3 separate regions of the Homo sapiens genome follow, and all the other regions are linked to region 1. The links are contacts of gene promoters, found by promoter capture Hi-C in human tissues and cell types (Jung and others, 2019). All regions are on one chromosome and are shown on one strand. Each heading gives the region's core, a stretch centred on a gene start or on the middle of the fragment in contact. The rest is flanking DNA. Distances are from core to core; before and after follow the strand shown. Region 1 holds the start of KCNK1 (potassium two pore domain channel subfamily K member 1). Region 2 has its middle 71 kb from the start of MIR4427. Region 3 has its middle 68 kb from the start of KCNK1.

Region 1 (3,385 bases), core at 648-3,147:
ACTTGAGGGAGAAGGAGGAATTCAAGTTCTAAAAGAGTAGGGCACTTGCTGATGGGGAAGGGTTCCCAGAGGCGGAAGGACTGAGAGTGGTAAGTGCTTCCTTTCACCTTGAAAATAAGGAGGTACATTTTTTCCTTAGGGGTAAGAGCAAAGGGAAGAAATGGATTACCGATGAGTAAATTTTGAAGTACAGAGAAGTAAAGTGGAGGGCTGGCTTCAATCTTTTGAGTAACGTAGGAGGTAAGGCTATTGACTAAAAGTGAAAAATCACTGATATATATGTTAGACATTTGCACAAGTTTCTATGAAAATACAAAATATGACTTGTTTAGAGAACTTCAGTAAAGTAGGCAAATGTTCAGCTAGGTGTTGGAATGATTAATTGTACAATTCAGTTTTGTGTATTTTAAATGTTTTTCCTGATTACAAAAATAATATATATCCACTGTAGAAAATTTGAAAAATATTAAAAGGTACAAGAAAGGAAAGTCATCTATATACTCTACTATTACCCAAAGACAACTGCAAGGAGATAGTTTTATTCCTATGCAGTTGATTAATAATGCAGATGTCATTTTATTTTGTAACAAAATACAAATATTTTACATATTTGAGATTCTACACAGTTTTGCTTCAATAGTCTTTAGACACAACTTTAATGTGTTTAATGTCTATATGGTGTCCATGCTGTAGAGATGCCATAACTTATTTAACCATTCTCTATTTTGGAATATTTAGATTGTTCTGAGTCTTCATTATTTCATCTATACCGTGTGTGTGTGTGTGTGTGTGTGTGTGTCCCACATGTGTATGCACTATATTATACAACTACATGTATGTATATATAGATACCGTCTATGACCAGTCTTTGTAAGTAAGTGCCTCTCTGATTGTTTTTTCTTAGGACATATCACTGAATCAGAACAAATAAACCCTTTCAAGGTTCTTGAGACGTGTCGCTAAATTGCCTTTCCAGAAAGGGTGTACCAATTTTTATTTTCATCCACAAGCAGGCGGCTCGCTGACCCTCGCCCACATTTTTGTCACTTTAAAAAGAAGTGACAGTTGGGAAAGCTCAGTTTCTTCTGGCAGTTGACACATTTGGGATGTTTTTTCACCAAAAAACCTAAGGTCATGTTTTAGAAAATTCGAACTCAGAAATAGGACTTCTCTGAGACTCTCCTTTTCCCTCAAGTCCTTTTTGTGAGGGGGATGGGTGGGAGAGAGGAGACTGATTCAAGGAGCCTTCCAACTCTGATGTTCTGGTATTTTCACCGTCATTACTGGCACCAGATTGCTCAATCCTTCGACCAATAAGACAAAGAAGGAAAGTACTTCAGCGCTTGCTGTTTTGTAATACTGGCTTTGATTGGGAGAAAATAAGTGGGAAACAAGAGTAGCTTGGACAGGGGGCTTGGACGGCCAGCGCATTGACCAGAAGCGGCCCACACTACACGCGCGCGAACACACACACACACACACGCACACGCCGCGCGCGGTCAGCTAGAGTTTGGCTACTGGACCCAGGAAGGGAGGGAGCGGGAGGAGCTGGTGGCTGTCGGGTCGGGGTCTGGGCGCCACCGAGCGCCCGCCCCACCTCTGGAGTGCGCAGAAGGCGGTGCGTCCCGGGCCCCGGCAGCCCAGCCCAGGCGCTCTGGCCAAGTTTGCGCGCGGTCTCCGCTGACTCTCGGGTTACCTGAGCCGGCAACCACGTCAGCGCCACATCATCTGGGCTTTTTATATTGCAAGGAAACAGGAAAAGAAGGAAGAAAAACATCGCCCGAGAGAGCCAATCGCAGGAAGACGGCGCTGCCCGGAGGAGCGGGGCGGGCGGGCGCGCGGGGGAGCGGGCGGCGGGCGGGAGCCAGGCCCGGGCGGGGGCGGGGGCGGCGGGGCCAGAAGAGGCGGCGGGCCGCGCTCCGGCCGGTCTGCGGCGTTGGCCTTGGCGGCGGCGGTGGAGAAGATGCTGCAGTCCCTGGCCGGCAGCTCGTGCGTGCGCCTGGTGGAGCGGCACCGCTCGGCCTGGTGCTTCGGCTTCCTGGTGCTGGGCTACTTGCTCTACCTGGTCTTCGGCGCAGTGGTCTTCTCCTCGGTGGAGCTGCCCTATGAGGACCTGCTGCGCCAGGAGCTGCGCAAGCTGAAGCGACGCTTCTTGGAGGAGCACGAGTGCCTGTCTGAGCAGCAGCTGGAGCAGTTCCTGGGCCGGGTGCTGGAGGCCAGCAACTACGGCGTGTCGGTGCTCAGCAACGCCTCGGGCAACTGGAACTGGGACTTCACCTCCGCGCTCTTCTTCGCCAGCACCGTGCTCTCCACCACAGGTAGGGTATCCTGCGCGCCCCCTGGCCGCCCCGGCCACCTCGCCCACAACCCACACACCCCGGCCCCGGCGCCCCGGGCCCCTCTAACCCTCCCACCCCACCCCCCACCTTTCGCCATCCCGGCTCCTCCAGCCCGCCTCCCCTCACTGTCCTCCCGACCCTCCGACCTTCCCCTTACTGGCGTCCCCGGCCTCTGCCTGGGTGACTCGGGAGGGCAAGCCCTGCGGAGCCGGAAGCCAGAGAGGTGACTCCAGACGTGACTTGGTTGTTGCCGTCCGTAACTCTGGGGAAGTGGTCCCTAACTTCGGCCTGGGTGGCTGCAGGTGCTTCCTCCCCTTGAGTTCTTTTTTCGCAACCCACTAAGCCAAACTGTCGGGTTTGAATGTGTAGCAGCACCTGGCCGCCGTGCGGCAAGGCAGCGGGATGATGGAAACTCACCACCTTCCTCCCGCACCCATCCCAGAGGCCGAGGCTGCAGTCTGGTAATAATACCTTCTAAAGGGTCACCTTCCGGAGTGTGCCGTCCCTTTGGACCATGCACAGATATTCCAGCTCTTTTGTACCTTGGAGGCAGTTTTGGGGGTAGCCGAGTGACATCACTCTGCTCTTCCCAGGTGACCTCTGGGCGGACAGGCCGATCCGGTTTCTTTTCAGAGTAGGAGGAAGGGTGAGGGAGAGTAAAGGAACCATAGGATTGCCTAAGATCTGACTTAATTGGGGCACCCTGATTCAGCAGTTCCTTCAACTTGAGGTGTGCGAGGCTCCCCATAAACTTCGAAGCGCCACGTCCCCGTACGACTCACCCGCGGGGCGCCCGGCCATGGAGGAGCCTCCTCAGGTGAAAGATGAGGCCGGGCGCATGCCCCAGGGCTCGGTCACTGTGCCAGATCAGATGAATGAAGGCCGAATTTCCCCAGCCGGACCTAGTAAGGCACATACCCAGAGTGGAGATATCAATTGGTATTTGGACAGTGGGAGGAATCTGAAAGAGCGTTCAGCACAGTCCCTTCTTTTGATCTATGAGATCCAATCTTTGAAATAATCCATCTCGTCATGCACAAGGTCAC
Region 2 (3,385 bases), core at 452-2,951, 81 kb after region 1:
CCGAGACAGGCGGATCACCTGAGGTCAGGAGTTTGAGATCAGCCTGGCCAACACGGTGAAACCCTGTCTCTACTAAAAATACAAAAATTAGCTGGGCATAGTGGCACATGCCTGTAATCCCAGCTACTCAGGAGGCTGAGGTAGAAGAATCGCTGGAACCCGGGAGGCAGAGGTTACAGTGAGCCGAGATCTTGCCACTGCACTCCAGCCTGGGTGACAGTGTGAGACTCTGCCTCAAAATTAATTAATTAATGCCCACAACCTTTCCATGAGCTAAGTCATTGTCATTATCTCAGGGGTAAAGGCAAAAATGTTCCAAAAAACATAATATGTATTTAGTTTTATCCATAGAGATAAATGCTTGTGTGATACTGGCTTGTTCCGACGTGTTTAGAGTAAGCAACGTTTTTCTTGAGAGCTGCTTTCCTTCGGCATCCTTGACCATGTGGCCATCTCCAGGCTGAAGAAACAGAATCTGACTTTTTAGATCCTCCATTCAGCTACTTCCAACCAACTGCATGAAAAAGCTGTCTCCTTTTGTTCTCTTCAAGTGAGGCATTATTTTATTTCTCTGAGCAGCTCTCTCACCTCGTTACCTTTCATACTTCTTTACAACAATATACATTGCAATAAAATACAATTAAAACATCATTTGAGTGCTCCTACACTAGGTCTCTCAGCCTCTTTAAATGGATGCTTTCCTTAGGTAAAATTAAAAAATGCATGCCCTTTATTAATTAATTTTTTTTTTTTTGAGACGGAGTCTTGCTTTGTCACCAGGCTGGAGTGCAGTGGCGTGATCTCAGCTCACTGCAACCTCTGCCTCCCGAGTTCAAGCAATTCCCCTGCCTCAGCCTCCCAAGTAGCTGGGATTACAGGCATGTGCCACCAAGCCCAGCTAATTTTTTGTATTTTAGTAGAGACGGGGTTTTACCATGTTGGCCAAGATGGTCTCGATCTCCTGACCTAGTGATCTGCCTGCCTCGGCCTCCCAAAGTGCTGGGATTACAGGCATGAGCCACTGTGCCTGGCTAAAAATGCATGCCATTTAAAGTGCAACTTGAAGTTCAAACTGTATTATCAGGTCTAAAGATGAATAAGAGCAATGGGGCAGAGAGCATGTTTGCTTCCCAGCCACAGAAGTTTCTATGAGATTCCAATATACTGCCGAGGGGAAGAGATGTTTTCTCAGCACCACAACCCACTGCTTCACCCCACTTTAGTGAATTCTGAGGAGTACACTTTTCCACAGGGCATTCAAGGAGTGTTTATTGTCATGGTTTTCTATTTTTTTAAAAAAGAACTTCAGATGTGGCAGGAAGGAAGGCTTAAAGTTCCATCTGTCAGCTCCTGAAACCGCGTCATTTCTATTCTAGGACTAGACTTGGAATGGTTATGGCAGCTGCCAAAGAGCGTTTGATAAGGAGAGCCTATAACCTCAGCTCTTTATTAGCCTGGAAAGCCTGGGGTCTTGGAAGCTGTGAACTCACTTTGTTAGCTAACTGAGGGGACTCCAAACACTGCCTGGTCACCTCAGATATTTCTGCAACCCAGAGATGGGTGCTGCTGGATTGTCCCCCGGATTAATTCTGTTTCTGACTCAAGCCAAAGGGGTCTAACCTGGGGGAGAATCTCATTAATATTATGAAGACCCAGGGAAGCTTTTGGGAATGATGCGCAGACAATATCTGGGTAGGTAACATGCTTGTGATGTGGCTACAATAACCTAAAAGCTTAAATGTGGAGGAGATGTTGCAGGGCAAAGTCTTTTGAAATGTCCGGGGGCTCCCTCCCCGTGACTTCTGTCTACTCCTCCCTAGTGTTGGCTTCTAGTTAAAGAGCTCATTAACCATATATTTGATTTCTCAAACATGAATAAATCCACTTAGCAGCTTGCTCAAAACCTTTGTTGTAACTTTCTTTTCTCAAATTTAGACTGTCTCCTCACCTACTGAGAAGTTGTGACACTTTCATAATGAGAAGGGTGACTTAAATTTAGAATGAGGCACAATCTTAAGATACAGCGGATTCAATTCAGGCTTTGCCACAAGCTCCATGGGTGGTCTCACTATTTAATTTTTATTTTCCTCATTTCCAGATTTGTCTTCCCCACTGTTTTCTTTGTTATGAACTTTCACAGTCAATTGAGAATTCTGCATCCAGGAAAAAAATTTTATACAAGTACAATCATCCCTGGGTGTGCTCAGAGAAATGGGTCTGTGCAGTTCAAAACTGCTCTTTGAACAACAAAGTGCAACTGTACTTTTCCCTCTATTCTTCCCTCTAATTACCACCCTGGATGTTAAATATGAAATAAACATAAGAAGACGTCTTAAAGGTGGAGAGAGGAATGCAGACCAGCTATGGAACTCAGGGTCCAAGGAAGACACATCAAGCAAACAGCACAGAAAAAACTATGGTCCTACAGTGTCCATGATAGCAAAGACTGAGTGGGGAGCCTAGAGTTTGACCCTCACTAGGCTGTAATGAGGTATCCCCAATGTCCCTGTCTGGGTGGTATCAGAGAAGGCCAAATAGAGAGCTGGAAACTACTCACCATGTGGTAATGAGTCTCCACTTTCACCCCAGCCTACCTCCATACACACACAGTGTCAGTGCAACCTGACTTCAACTCCAGAGGCATCTTTTCCTCCTGCTGCGATGAAGTCAGAGAAGGCCTAGCAGAAAGTCAGGACTTTCAACCCTGCCCAGTGGTAATGGGACCAATCCCACCACAATGTCAGTGGAGAGCCATAATTCTCACCCTCCACTAGCAGTAACAACACCTTCCCCTGGGGAAGTGATGTCAGACATAGCCAACTAAAACAGAAGATTTAAATAAGATGCAGTTTCATGACATAATATTTAAAAAAATCATACCAAACGCAAGGAAGATCTCAAACAGAATGAAAAAGACAATTGATAGATGCCACCACCAACAAAACAGATGTTAGAATTGTCTGAGAAGGATGTTAAAGCAGCCACTAATTCAAAGTTTTGATGAGCAGTTATGAACATGCCTGGTCATAACTGAAAATGAAAAATAGAAAGTCTTAACCAAGGAGGAAACTGCCTCAACCTGATAAAGAGCATCTATAATAAGCCTACAACTAACAGTATACCTAATGATGAAAGACTGAAAGCTTTCCTCCTAAGATTAGAAACAAAGCAAGGGTGTCTGCTCTCACTGATTTTATTCATCATAGTACTGAAAACTCTAGCCAGTGCAATAAGGCAAGAAAAGGAAAGTAAATTCATACATATACAAAAGGAAGAAATAAACTGTTCATATTTGAAGATGACATTAATGTCTACATAGAAAATCCTAAAGATCACAAATGACCTAGAATCTTCAAACAAAAGAACAAATTTGAGCCCTTGTCTT
Region 3 (3,385 bases), core at 296-2,795, 68 kb before region 1:
CCTTAACACCCCCTGTGCTTAACTTTCCTCATTTGTACAAATGGGATAATCATAGTCCTTACTTCACAGGTTTGTTCTGGCATATAACAAGTGCTCCATAAATGTGGTCCTCCCCCAAAAAACTCTAGTCCCATGCAAGGAACACACTATTTGGCATATTGGTTAGACCCTTCTTTCATCTTTTGCAGTGTTCGAGTTTCTATCTTCCCAGTCCCTAACTCCTTGATGCCTTTGGCTTTCCCTAATTTATGCCCTTATGCAAACTGTGACTTCGAGCACCTTGGGCTCTTGGCATCACCTAGCAGCTCCCAGCCTCCTCCTGATACCTTGTGACTCTGATTTTGGACCACAGCCTTGGACCTGGCTGCTGATTTTTTATTTTTAGTATCGACTTCGTGTGCCCTCAGGTTTCACTTTTGTTCTAGGCTGCTCAGCAAGGTACTTGTCTCTTTGTTCTAAGGAAGAGGTACTTCTGTCTGACTTTTGTTGAAAACTCCTTCCCTCTGCTCCTGATTCACATCCTCCAAGTTTTCCTGGTTCCTTCTCCCTGTGCCGCTGCTTGGAGTCTTCGGTTCCTCCCTGTGTCATCTTCTCTTCTCAGCCATTAAGTTGACCACTCCTCCCTTAGATGAAAAATAATAACACATCTTCCCTGCCTCTCCCTTACCATTCATCCCCTTCATCGGCAACACACTGAAAATACTTGTCCGAACCTGTGTCTCTCTGGCTGCCTATCCTCTCACACTCAGCTCACACTTGCCCACCTCTAGTTAGGGCTCCGCTAAAAAATATCCTGTGTGACCTTGTGCCATACCCTTGTCTTTGGATATCAGATACTCTGACAGATGATGCTTCCCATCTTCTGATTTTGGTTGGACCAAAAATCTTGTTTTTGTTTTTTTTTTAGACCAACTCTTGCTCTGTCATCCAGACTAGAGTGCAGTGGCGTAACCTTGGCTCACTGCAACCTCTGCCTCCTGGATTCACGTGATTCTCCTGCCTCAGCCTCCCGAGTAGCTGGAATTACAGGCATGGATGGCCACACCTGGATAATTTTTGTATTTTTAGTAGAGATGGGGTTTCACCATGTTGGCCAGGCTTGTCTCGAACTCCTGAGCTCAGATAATCTGCCCGCCTCTGCCTCCCAAAGTGCTGGGATTACCAGCGTGAGCCACCGCACCCGGCTCTGGACCAACAATCTTTAATGCCCCTTTCAGTTGTGTCTAAGACAGATGAACATGGTAAGGTTGGTTTTTGCTGTTAATCTCATTGCTTCATTTATAGTAATTCTCACTTAGATTAAAATTTTAAAGTAAAAAAAAATTCTAAAGGAAATTGTTCATAAGAAAAGGAATAAAAATGAGCATCATTTCTTGTAATGGAATGTAATACTATCGTATCTTGCTGTAATACTATGGGGTGCCTAATGCTTTGATATTTAGTATATTTCTGTGCCTGGAAGGCTGAAATTTGTATTCACTTTGTGATTTTAGTCAAATAAGAAAATGACATTTATTGATCTATTGGCCTGTTATAGCTGAATTTAAGGCAATAAAAAGAAAATGACAATAGTATATATTGTCTATAGAACAAATAAGAGAAAATGGGCTATCTTATTCTTACTTGAGTCTCAAATTATTTTATATTTTTCTAATTCTGCTCATGTGTATGTAAATATAGCTGACGATCACCAGGAAATAAGCTGGTTCTTAGTGAAAGTAACACATCAGATTTATGTTTGAGAATTATAGGCTAGAAAAATACATAATTCCTATGTTATGTAGAACAGTGAGGATTTTGCTTCTACAAGAACAAGTCTAATAGTATTTCTATTCTCTTCTTCCCTATCCCATTCCACTGGCTAAACTAGCTGTTTTCTAGTCAGTACCCCCAGGATGCTCTTCGGATTCTCTCGCTTCTGTCCTGGGGCAAAAGAGCCTTTACCTTTGGAACTTGAATAGGGAACATCTTGCTAACTCTTACATACACCATCCCTGTAAAAGTGGGCAGAAATCGCAGATGTCTAAAAGGGCAAAAGCTTTATAAGTGAGGAGGAATTCCAGAAACCTAAAACCGGAAGTAGGCAGTGTCGATATTTCTTGTATATAGTCTCTTTCAGAGCCAGTCCAGTGTAGAAATCTTCTCTCTAAAAGATGTCAGGCGGGTGGATCACGAGGTCGGGAGTTTAAGACTGGCGTGGCCAAGATCGTGAAACCCTGTCTCTATAAAAAAATACAAAAATCAGCCACGTATGATGGCGGGCGCCTGTAATCCAAGCTACTTGGGAGGCTGAGGCAGAGAATTGCTTAACCCGAGAAGGGGAGTTTGCAGTGAGCCAAGATCACGCCACTGCACTCCAGCCTGGGTGACAGAGCAAGACTCCATCTCAAAAAAAAAAAGATGTCAGGAGTAGGCATATGTGAGAACAGATTAAAGATAATGAAAATGTTTTACATTTGCATATTACTTTGTAATTTTATATATCATGTTGACTGCATTTAGTTATTTGACCAGTATGGGCCGTCACTCACCCCAGTTGAAGTTTTTGTTATATTTTGTGTATGGTTGTTTAAGGTGTTTTTTTTTTTTTAAATCAAAACAATATGATAGCACTTGAAAGCAGAATATGCCACTTTGGCATAAGGATTATTTTGAGCTGAAGGCAATTGAGAAGTAGATACAAGAAAAACTCTCTGCTCTGCTCTTATTTACCTAAAAAAGCAGGACCTAAATTTGTAAAGGCATCCTCCTTTCCCCTCTACCAAGAAGGACAAAGGTTTCTCAATGGAGATGACTTAGGTTCTTAGCCTGAAAATCAGTACCAGAGGAATTTACATAACAAACTTTACTAACCAGCCTTTATCCACCATATTTGCCTTCCCACAATTTGCTGCCTCTAAAGTTTCAAGATCCCTTTCTTTTGTCCTCTAATTTCTTCAAAAATTTATTGTTCTTTGTGAAGATGTTATATAAGCCAGAGTTCTAAGCCACCTGTTTGAGAACCACTGATTCTCTCTCTCCCATGTATATATGAGATATACATATTAATAACTTGTTTGTTTTTTTCTTGTTGATCTGTCTTATTACAGCAATTTCGCTGAAGATCTCAAAAGGTGATGATGATTCATTAACAAGATGGCTTGAATTGTTTCATCCATCAGCCCTTCTCACTTCTTAGTTTTGGTTCAATCTGCTTCTTCTGTCTAGAACGACTCTTTCAGCTTTATCCATCCTTCAAATTTCAATGCAAGCACCAATCTCTTCAAGAACCATTCCAGACACCTTCTCCCTGCACTGTTGTGAGTAATCTCATCTTCCCCTGGAATGATGCTTGATATCCTAGTGGATATGAACTGTGTCTCAGCCATCTCTACTGCTTTCATTA

The links. The method cuts DNA at HindIII sites, captures the fragments that hold promoters and counts their contacts. A contact is called where the count stands out against the background at its distance.
Region 2: a fragment that was not itself captured here is called in contact with the fragment with the promoter of KCNK1 in region 1 in 2 of the 25 tissues and cell types used here (heart left ventricle and liver).
Region 3: a contact is called between a fragment that was not itself captured here and the fragment with the promoter of KCNK1 in region 1, in 2 of the 25 tissues and cell types used here (dorsolateral prefrontal cortex and liver).

Annotation. Positions count from the first base shown.
Region 1 is chr1:233,612,209-233,615,593 of GRCh38, forward strand. KCNK1 (potassium two pore domain channel subfamily K member 1) reads left to right here and starts at 1,898. Exons shown (of 3, transcript NM_002245.4): 1 at 1,898-2,318. The coding sequence starts at 1,964. RefSeq lists enhancers at 1,024-1,676, 2,865-2,924 and silencers at 1,465-1,564, 1,925-1,994, 2,335-2,394. The HindIII fragment of the contact is 20,351 bases long and covers 1-3,385 here.
Region 2 is chr1:233,692,969-233,696,353 of GRCh38, forward strand. No RefSeq gene overlaps it. Among named protein-coding and RNA genes, the nearest start is that of MIR4427, 71 kb to the left of the region's middle. The HindIII fragment of the contact is 4,410 bases long and covers 1-3,385 here.
Region 3 is chr1:233,544,134-233,547,518 of GRCh38, forward strand. No RefSeq gene overlaps it. Among named protein-coding and RNA genes, the nearest start is that of KCNK1, 68 kb to the right of the region's middle. The HindIII fragment of the contact is 6,746 bases long and covers 1-3,385 here.